2 separate regions of the Homo sapiens genome follow, and region 2 is linked to region 1. The links are contacts of gene promoters, found by promoter capture Hi-C in blood cells and fetal thymus (Javierre and others, 2016). All regions are on one chromosome and are shown on one strand. The core of a region is centred on a gene start or on the middle of the fragment in contact, and the rest is flanking DNA. Distances in the headings are between cores, read along the strand shown.

Region 1 (3,780 bases), core at 349-2,848:
AGATTAAAAATTTTTAAAAACAAGAACTGTCCTTTACCACAAATAGTTTGAAAAACACTGTCAGAGTATTTAGGTTGCCCCCCAGATCTAAGTAGATTACCTCTATAAACAAACATTCAAAAATATTAAAAAATAAACACAAGTTTGAATATGGACTGAATATTATAGATTATGTATTTACGGTTTTCTTAGGTATAATAATACCACAATAATTATGTAGGAGAATGATACTTTTAGAAGCTATATGCTTATGTATTTACGGGTAAATTATCATGTCTAACTTACTGAATGGGGGATAGCAAAATGAAAAAACACACAGCAGGCATCCCATACACACGGCTAAAGTAAATATGGTCAAATATTAAGAACAGCTGAATTTAAGGGGTGGGTATACAGACAACAATCAATACTGCACTTTCAACTTTTCAAAACATAATGTTGAAAAAATGTTTAAATAAATAGGTCATAAAAACCAAGTCCTCCATACCCCAAAGTCACCAGGTCAGTATTCTCCGGAATGACTTCTGGATCCTCACCGTCCTCAAGGCATTTCAGTTTATCAAGGCTAAAACAAAAAGGAAAAGCAATACTTTAAGGTCGACTCTGCATCTGGTTCACAGCGAGTTAGGGTTGTTTTCCTAAATACATTACTGAATTACGAAGTCAGATAAAATCCAGCAGGCGGCTCAGAGAGGCCAGAACTTAAGACAACGATTTCTGTGATTATATTTTATAATGAAAAGGCCGATGAAGGCAGCCAGTACTGTTAAATGGAGAAAGAGATTAAAGTTATTTTTATATTTTCATCCCCAAATAAGGCACTTTTAAGAAATATTTCAGTAACAGAATACCCGGAAGGTCCCCAAAAGAAACCAGTTAGTCGGGGTTTTAACACTCCTCTGATGAAGTCTCCCGCAGCTTCACCATTACTCAGGTTCCTCCATTGTCAAAGTGTCTGTCAATGGCAGGTACACGTCGCTGTTGCCCTGATTGCTTTTCTTTATTAACAAGCACTCTTAGAATAAGCAAATGGAAAAACTAGTCTTTGATGCAGCTGTCTTGTCCCTTTGCTCCAACTCGTAGAAACTGTGCATTCGGGTCCCAGGACTTCTCCTGGTGTCCCAGGAAGGCTCCAGCGGGTTGAAAGCTTTAAAGGGTAATACTCCTAGCCCAGGTCTAAACCACAGGCCCTTCTCAGGGATGAGTCCCAGAGGAGCGCACGAGCAAGGCTGCACCCTGTTTGACCCCAAGCTGCAAGAGCCCCTTTGCTCCGCACTCACCCGCACACCGCCCTCAGCTCAGCCGCCGCCTCCAGGCTGCAGTCCAGATCCCTGGCCACCGCGGCATCCTCCCGGTCGGAGTCAGCTGCCTGGCTCCCAGGCAGAGCGGATGCCGGCGGCTCCCTCAGCGACAAGTCCCCGGCCCCGCGCAGACGGCCCCGCCACAGCTCCCCAAAGGCGCCCACATGGAAAGCGCGCGTATTTAGCTCGGGAAGCTCATACTCTGGAAAGTTGCAGCCGCCACTGCCGGAGACTGGGTCCTGCCTGCCACCCACCCCGCTACACGTAGGGCCACCTCGGCTTCCTTCAGCCATGTTCGCCCCACTCCTTCCCCTGCAAAAGCCTGCAGATCAAGGCCTCGCAGAGCGTGATGGAAGTTGTAGTTGCTTGGGGCGCCCGGCCGGCGAGCGGCGAGGCGGCGCGGGCAGGGCATCAGAAACTACATTTCCCGGCAGGCCATGGGCAGGCCCGCCCCAGGGCGCGGCACCGCGAGGCTCTACGTGCAGGGCGCAGCATTGTTCTCCGACCCGGGCGGTGCGGGAACCGTTGCGGCTGTCGGTTAACCGCAGCGGGTGGGGCTGGGTTTCTGGTCCCCGAGTTACGTAGCAACTGTCTCTGCCCGGTAGGGCGGCCTCGCCAGGCGCTTAGGCCCCGTTCCTTGCGGCTTTCGGACTAAGGGGTGCAGGGCTTTTTCTTGACTGGGGTTCAAGGACTGCTCTGCTGCCTGATTGCTTTAGAGCCTAAGAAACAAGGAGGGCGAGGGCCGAGACCAGGGACACGACCAGCCCTCCAGATCTGGTTCTTTCACAAGCTCCGCAGAGGCCCCATGTTGGTGTGCGTGTGCAGTAGTGTTTCAGAGCGTCTGTGTATCACACGCTACATGATTAACCCTAATGTATGTTTTTAATGTTTTTAAAAATTACAACAACCTTTCCGGATAGGGCGTATCACCCCGTGTTGCTGTTGAGGAAGGATTTACCTGCGGGGAAAATAGAAGCAGGATCGGAACTCAGTCTGGCTTCAGATGGAGCTCTCTCCATTTCTCAGAGGCCCTGAAGGATACAGCAGGACATACTATTTATTTATTAGACTGTAATCACATGCCATATAATTCACCCATTTGAAGTGTTCAGTGATTTTTGGTATATTCACAGGCTTGGGCAACCATCACCACTATTTGAGAGCATTTTTACCACTCGAAAGAAGAAACTTGTACTTTTTAGCTATCACCCCTGATCCTCCCAACTCCTCCAGCCCTAGCCAACCAAGAACCTACTTTGTCTCTCTAGATTTAACTAATCTGGACATTTAATATAAACGGAATTATATGGTCTTTTGGTGGCTGGCTTAATGTTTACAAGGTTTGTTACAGGTAGTTAGGCATGAGCAGGGCAGGAGAGGGCTCTTCCCTCACCCACTAGGAATGTGGGGTGATGCTTAGGCATTTATCACATTGCCTCTAAAAGTGATAAATTGGCAGCCGGTGCCAGGGAGAGGCCATTTCCTGATGGCCCACACCTGTTGCACTAAAGTGCTCGTTGAATGCAGGTGACAGGGAGAAGCAACTTCCTGGGCATATGCATTAAGAGACAAAATCGGGGAGTATGACCTTTCAGGGGGACTCTATCGGAAAAGGGAAGAAAGCCTCAGATGGGCACGCATACAACTTCATACATATTGCGCTGTGCTCACTTCCCAAGGGTAAGGAGGGCACTGCGCATGGAGGCAGCCCACCCTAAGGGAAGAATCATGGGAAAGGAGCCAGCCTGTAAAGTCCTAGGATCGAGGTCAATATCACAGTTGACCTCAGTGACAGCTTGGGACTCTTCCGAGCGTGCTTTCCTTTCTTTCCTAAAGGCCTTTTAAATAAGCTTCCACTCCTGCTCTGAAACTTGCCTCAGTCTCTTTTTGTGCCTTATTGCCCCTCGGTCAAATTCTTTCTTCTGAGGAGGCAAGAACTGAAGTTGCTGCAGACCCATACAGATTTGCCCTGGTAACTTGGATACCTGCCACCTGTAACACGTTCATCCATTTTGTAGTATGTGTCAGTACTTCATTCCTTTTTTGGCTGAATAATATTGCATTGTATGTATATGCCACATTTTATTTATCAAAAAGTTTTTACCTTTTGGCGTTGCTATGAACATTCATGTACACATTTTTGTGCAAATACGTTTTCATTTCTCTTGGGCATGTGCCCAGTAGTATACAGTCAGCCCTCCCTATCTGTGGGTTCTGCATCCTCCAATTCAACCAACCACATATCAAAAATTACAGTATTCCCAGGTTGCAGAACCTGAGGATAAGAGGAATTTTCCTATGGGCGGATTCCACAGGGCTGACTGCAAGAAGAGCATCTGTCAATTTTGGAGTCCACAGGGGTCTTCGAAACAGTCCACCCTGCAGATACCAAGGGATTTCTGTATTTATGGAACTCTATTTTCAACTATTTGAGGAACTGCCAGATTTTTTTAAAGTGGCTGTCCCATTTTACTCCCCT
Region 2 (3,780 bases), core at 708-3,207, 140 kb after region 1:
ATTTCTTCTTCAGTGTACGAGTGCATGTCACACCCTTTATCTTTTGTCCTTTTTGGTTGTCTATTCCTTATGACCTGTAGGAGTGTTCTTTGTTTATTCTAAATAGTAATTGTTTTGCCTGTTAAAGTGCCTTAATTATTTTATCCTAGCCAGTTGCTTGTCTTAGAAGTTTAAAATTTTTATGTAGCAAAATCTTTTACTCTTTTCTTTAAGGCTTCTGGTCTTTGTGTTTTGCTTAGAAAGACTGTCCCTGTTTTAAGATTATTTTAAAAAATACCCATTTTTTAAAATTTTTATATTTATCTCTTTATATGGAAACTTGTATATGGGTTTAATTTCATTTTTGTCTTAGTAGACAACCAATATCCTTAGCATCAGTTATTAAATATTTTCTCTCTACTGTAAAATCGTAACTGAATAATAAAATTCCGATATGCACAGGAATCCCTGTCTGTATTCTTTATTATGTTCTATTGATCTGTATATATGTTCCTGTGCCAATTCCATAGTTTCAATTTTTCAGGGCAAATCCTACAATTTTTTTTCCTTCTTGATAACTTTAGAACTACTTGTCAGGTTCCACTGAGAGTTCTGCTGCGAATCTTATTGACTGAGTTCTCTGTATGTAAAAAGTTCTCCTGGCATGAAAAGGAACTCAGGCTATGGAATCAAATAGGCCTGTGTATAAACCAGTTGTTAGCTGTGGGAATGATAATTGCACCTGTTTTACAGAAATGTCAAGTTTACATGAGACAATGCATAAAGGTGCAAAAGCTAATGCTTGGTGTACAGACATGCTTACAAAATATTATGTATATCTCCATAGTGACAGAGAAATGATATGTTCTGTGACAGTGTTATAGCTTATTAATCAGAATAGCCTTGCATTCATTTAAGAAATAGCATACTTATATACACATGTGAATAAAATTTCTGTCTTTAGTGATATTCCACTTGATACATAAATAAACACATTAGTGTATTCCTGTACTCATTCATTTATTTCTTTATTGATTCCTTCCAGTAGTATCTTGGTGTGGTTGCTGTGGGTAGGCGTGGCGCTTGGTGCTTGTGGATAGAGCTTATAGATATGCCTTATGGTAAATGCCGCCTGGAGGGAGGGCAGACGTGAAACAAATAGTTGTACCTAATTTTGTAATTACGATTGAGAAATACGGTGTGAAGAAAAGTTACAGTGTCTGTACAGCTCTGGCTCAGTTTGATGAAGTTCACTTTGTCAAATAGCTCAGTTTGTTGAATTTACAAAATTTGCTTCTCAAACATCATTTTAAAAGCTTTAATGAGAATGAGTGTAGATCAGATTCTGAAGCTGGACTCTGTGGGTTTAAATCCTGATTCTGCCACTTATACATGCTTTGTGACCTTGGGTGAGTTACTTAACCTCTCTGTGCTCCAGTTTCATCATATGTAAACTGAGTAGAGTATGAAGCCACTACCGAGGGTTTTTATGAAGAGCAAATCAGTTGTTATATGTAAAAGTTTGTGGAGCAGTGTCTGGCTCATAGAGTGTTGTAGAGGGTGTGTTAGCCATTATTGTGACTTCGTTAGCATCCAAATTTTTAACACCTCATATGGAATTTTAGAATTATTTATTTTTCCCAAATTCTTTTAAAGACCACCTTTCTCATGGTATAACTTACATGCAGTAAACCCATGTTAAGAGTACGTGCTAAGAGTAGCACCATGTTAAGATTAAGTTTTATAAATGTATGCACCCATTTAATCCCCAGTACAACTAAGGCAGAATATTTCCATGAGCCCCCAGGGTTCCTTGGTATCTATCCCTCTGCAGTCATTTCAAATTCCTTTTACTGCATTTGTTTTACCAGAGTGTCAGTCTTTGTCTTTTAACATGTTTAGAATTTTTAATTCATTTTTTGGTGGATAATGTATATGAAATTTGAGATACTAGTTATATGGTCTGTTATACTAATTATCACTTCTGGCAGTCTCTATTTTTTGCGAGTTTTGAGTAAGTGTCTATGTTTAATTGCTTCTTGTTAGAAACCAAAATGTCAGCATTTTACTTATGATAGTATTGGTTCACCAAGCAATTTGGTGAACAAATTAATTTATAGTTAAATTTCTTTTAACTGTAAAACAAGTTAATTTGTTTTACGGTATAATTGAAAGTTTGTTTTCCTACATAATAAAATATGTAGGTAAGTCTGTGTGTGGTGGCTCATGCCTGTAATCTCAACACTTTGGGAGGCTGAGGTGGGTGGATCACTTGAGGTCAGGAGTTTGAGACCAGCCTGACCAACATAGTGAAACCCCACCTCTACCAAAAAATACAAAAATTAGCCGGACTACATGGCATGTGCCTGTAGTCCCTGCTACTCAGGGAAGCTGAAGTGGGAGAATTGCTTGAACCTGGGGGCGGAGATTGCAGTGAGCCTAGATTGTGCCACTGCACTCCAGCGTGAGTGACAGAGTGAGACCCTGTCTCAAAAAGAAAAAAAAAATGCAGAAGAGGCATTTAGCTTTTTGCCATTTTTTTTTTTTTTTTTTTTTTTTTGCTGTTGCAGGGGGGATGTTGGTAGGAGTGGAGGATAATTTAGTCTTAGCAGAAATTAATATGTAGAAGTCTTAAGCTTTTCTCCCTTAGATTGCCCCAAAAGGACAGATTTAACTTCTCAGCATCTCTGCTTTGCTAATACCAAAATTACCTATAAGGATAGATACCAAGAGAGGGAGGGCACTGTATGAGTGGTCCAGTATTTGGACACACAACTTTTCCCTGCAGTAATCATAATGAAAGTAATAATTTAATGGGAGCTGACATTATTTCGTACTTACTGTGAATAGGCATCATGTTAAAGCCTACGTACATCTCATTTAATTCTTCAACCCCATGAGTTTGATGGCACTGTTATTCCCATTTTACAGGTGATGAATAAGAATCTTAGAGAAGTACCTTGCCCAAGACCACACACAGTGGGTTTTTGTTGTTGTTGTTGTTGTTTTTAGATTTTTTTTCCTTTTAGTTTAGAAAGAGAAAAGGAAGGAAATAAAGAAAGTTTGTTAAAATAACTATTGCATAAAAGGACATCTGGGCTAGATGCTGGGATGTACCTCTTCCAGAATAGGGACTGATGATTTAAACAAAAAAAAAGACAAAAAAGAAAGAAAAAAGAAATAAATTATTCTTCTCAATACTGTTTGGGATAATTGCATTGTTTTCATCTTTTCAACACACAAAACAGCCTCTTTGGGAAGCACTGTGATGAGACTGGCAAGAATGGCTGGTGCCTCGACTCTCTAGAATGGTAGGGGGAGCCCTGAGAGAGGCATTCTACTAAACCCCACTGCAAGCATTCGCATTCTTTACTCCTCCTACTTTTGGAATTGGGAAGGACCAGACTCAAGCTAAGTTCTCAATATATTAACTTTTAGGGATACCCACTGCCTCTCCTGACCCTCTTCTAGCAAACTCCCCTGCTGGCCCCTTTTCCGCCAGCTAGCTGCAGCAACCATACCAAGGGCCAGGAGGCTGCTTGGTGGTCTCAGCTAAGCAAAAGCGGGGTATCATCATCACTGTTCGGGCCACACATAGTTGGTAAGTGATGGAGCTGATAGCGGGACTCTGCAGTCTTTGTTCTTAGTGTTATTTCTCCCTTGAATTTAAATCTTGAAGGCAGTGAGTTTTTTGGGCTAAATAATTTCTCGTATTTGCCAACCCTTTGAACTTTATAGATTTTTAACATTTGTTTCTCACTCTATCCTCAAAGCATCCAATGCGGTAGGGAAGGAAACCTG

Evidence for each region. Contacts are between HindIII fragments. The CHiCAGO score rates a contact against its expected background, and 5 or more counts as called.
Region 2: a contact is called between a fragment that was not itself captured here and the fragment with the promoter of SNAPC3 in region 1, in 12 of 17 cell types (naive CD8 T cells, non-activated CD4 T cells, activated CD4 T cells and 9 more). The highest score is 12.1, in naive CD8 T cells.

What each region holds. Positions count from the first base shown.
Region 1 is chr9:15,420,694-15,424,473 of GRCh38, reverse strand. It overlaps SNAPC3 (small nuclear RNA activating complex polypeptide 3), which reads right to left and starts at 1,598. Exons shown (of 9, transcript NM_001039697.2): 1 at 1,281-1,598; 2 at 488-565. The coding sequence starts at 1,594. RefSeq lists an enhancer at 1,122-1,241 and a silencer at 1,582-1,871. The HindIII fragment of the contact is 2,004 bases long and covers 1,150-3,153 here.
Region 2 is chr9:15,280,385-15,284,164 of GRCh38, reverse strand. All of the region lies in intron 1 of TTC39B (tetratricopeptide repeat domain 39B), which reads left to right. Among named protein-coding and RNA genes, the nearest start is that of TTC39B, 25 kb to the left of the region's middle. The HindIII fragment of the contact is 1,320 bases long and covers 1,298-2,617 here.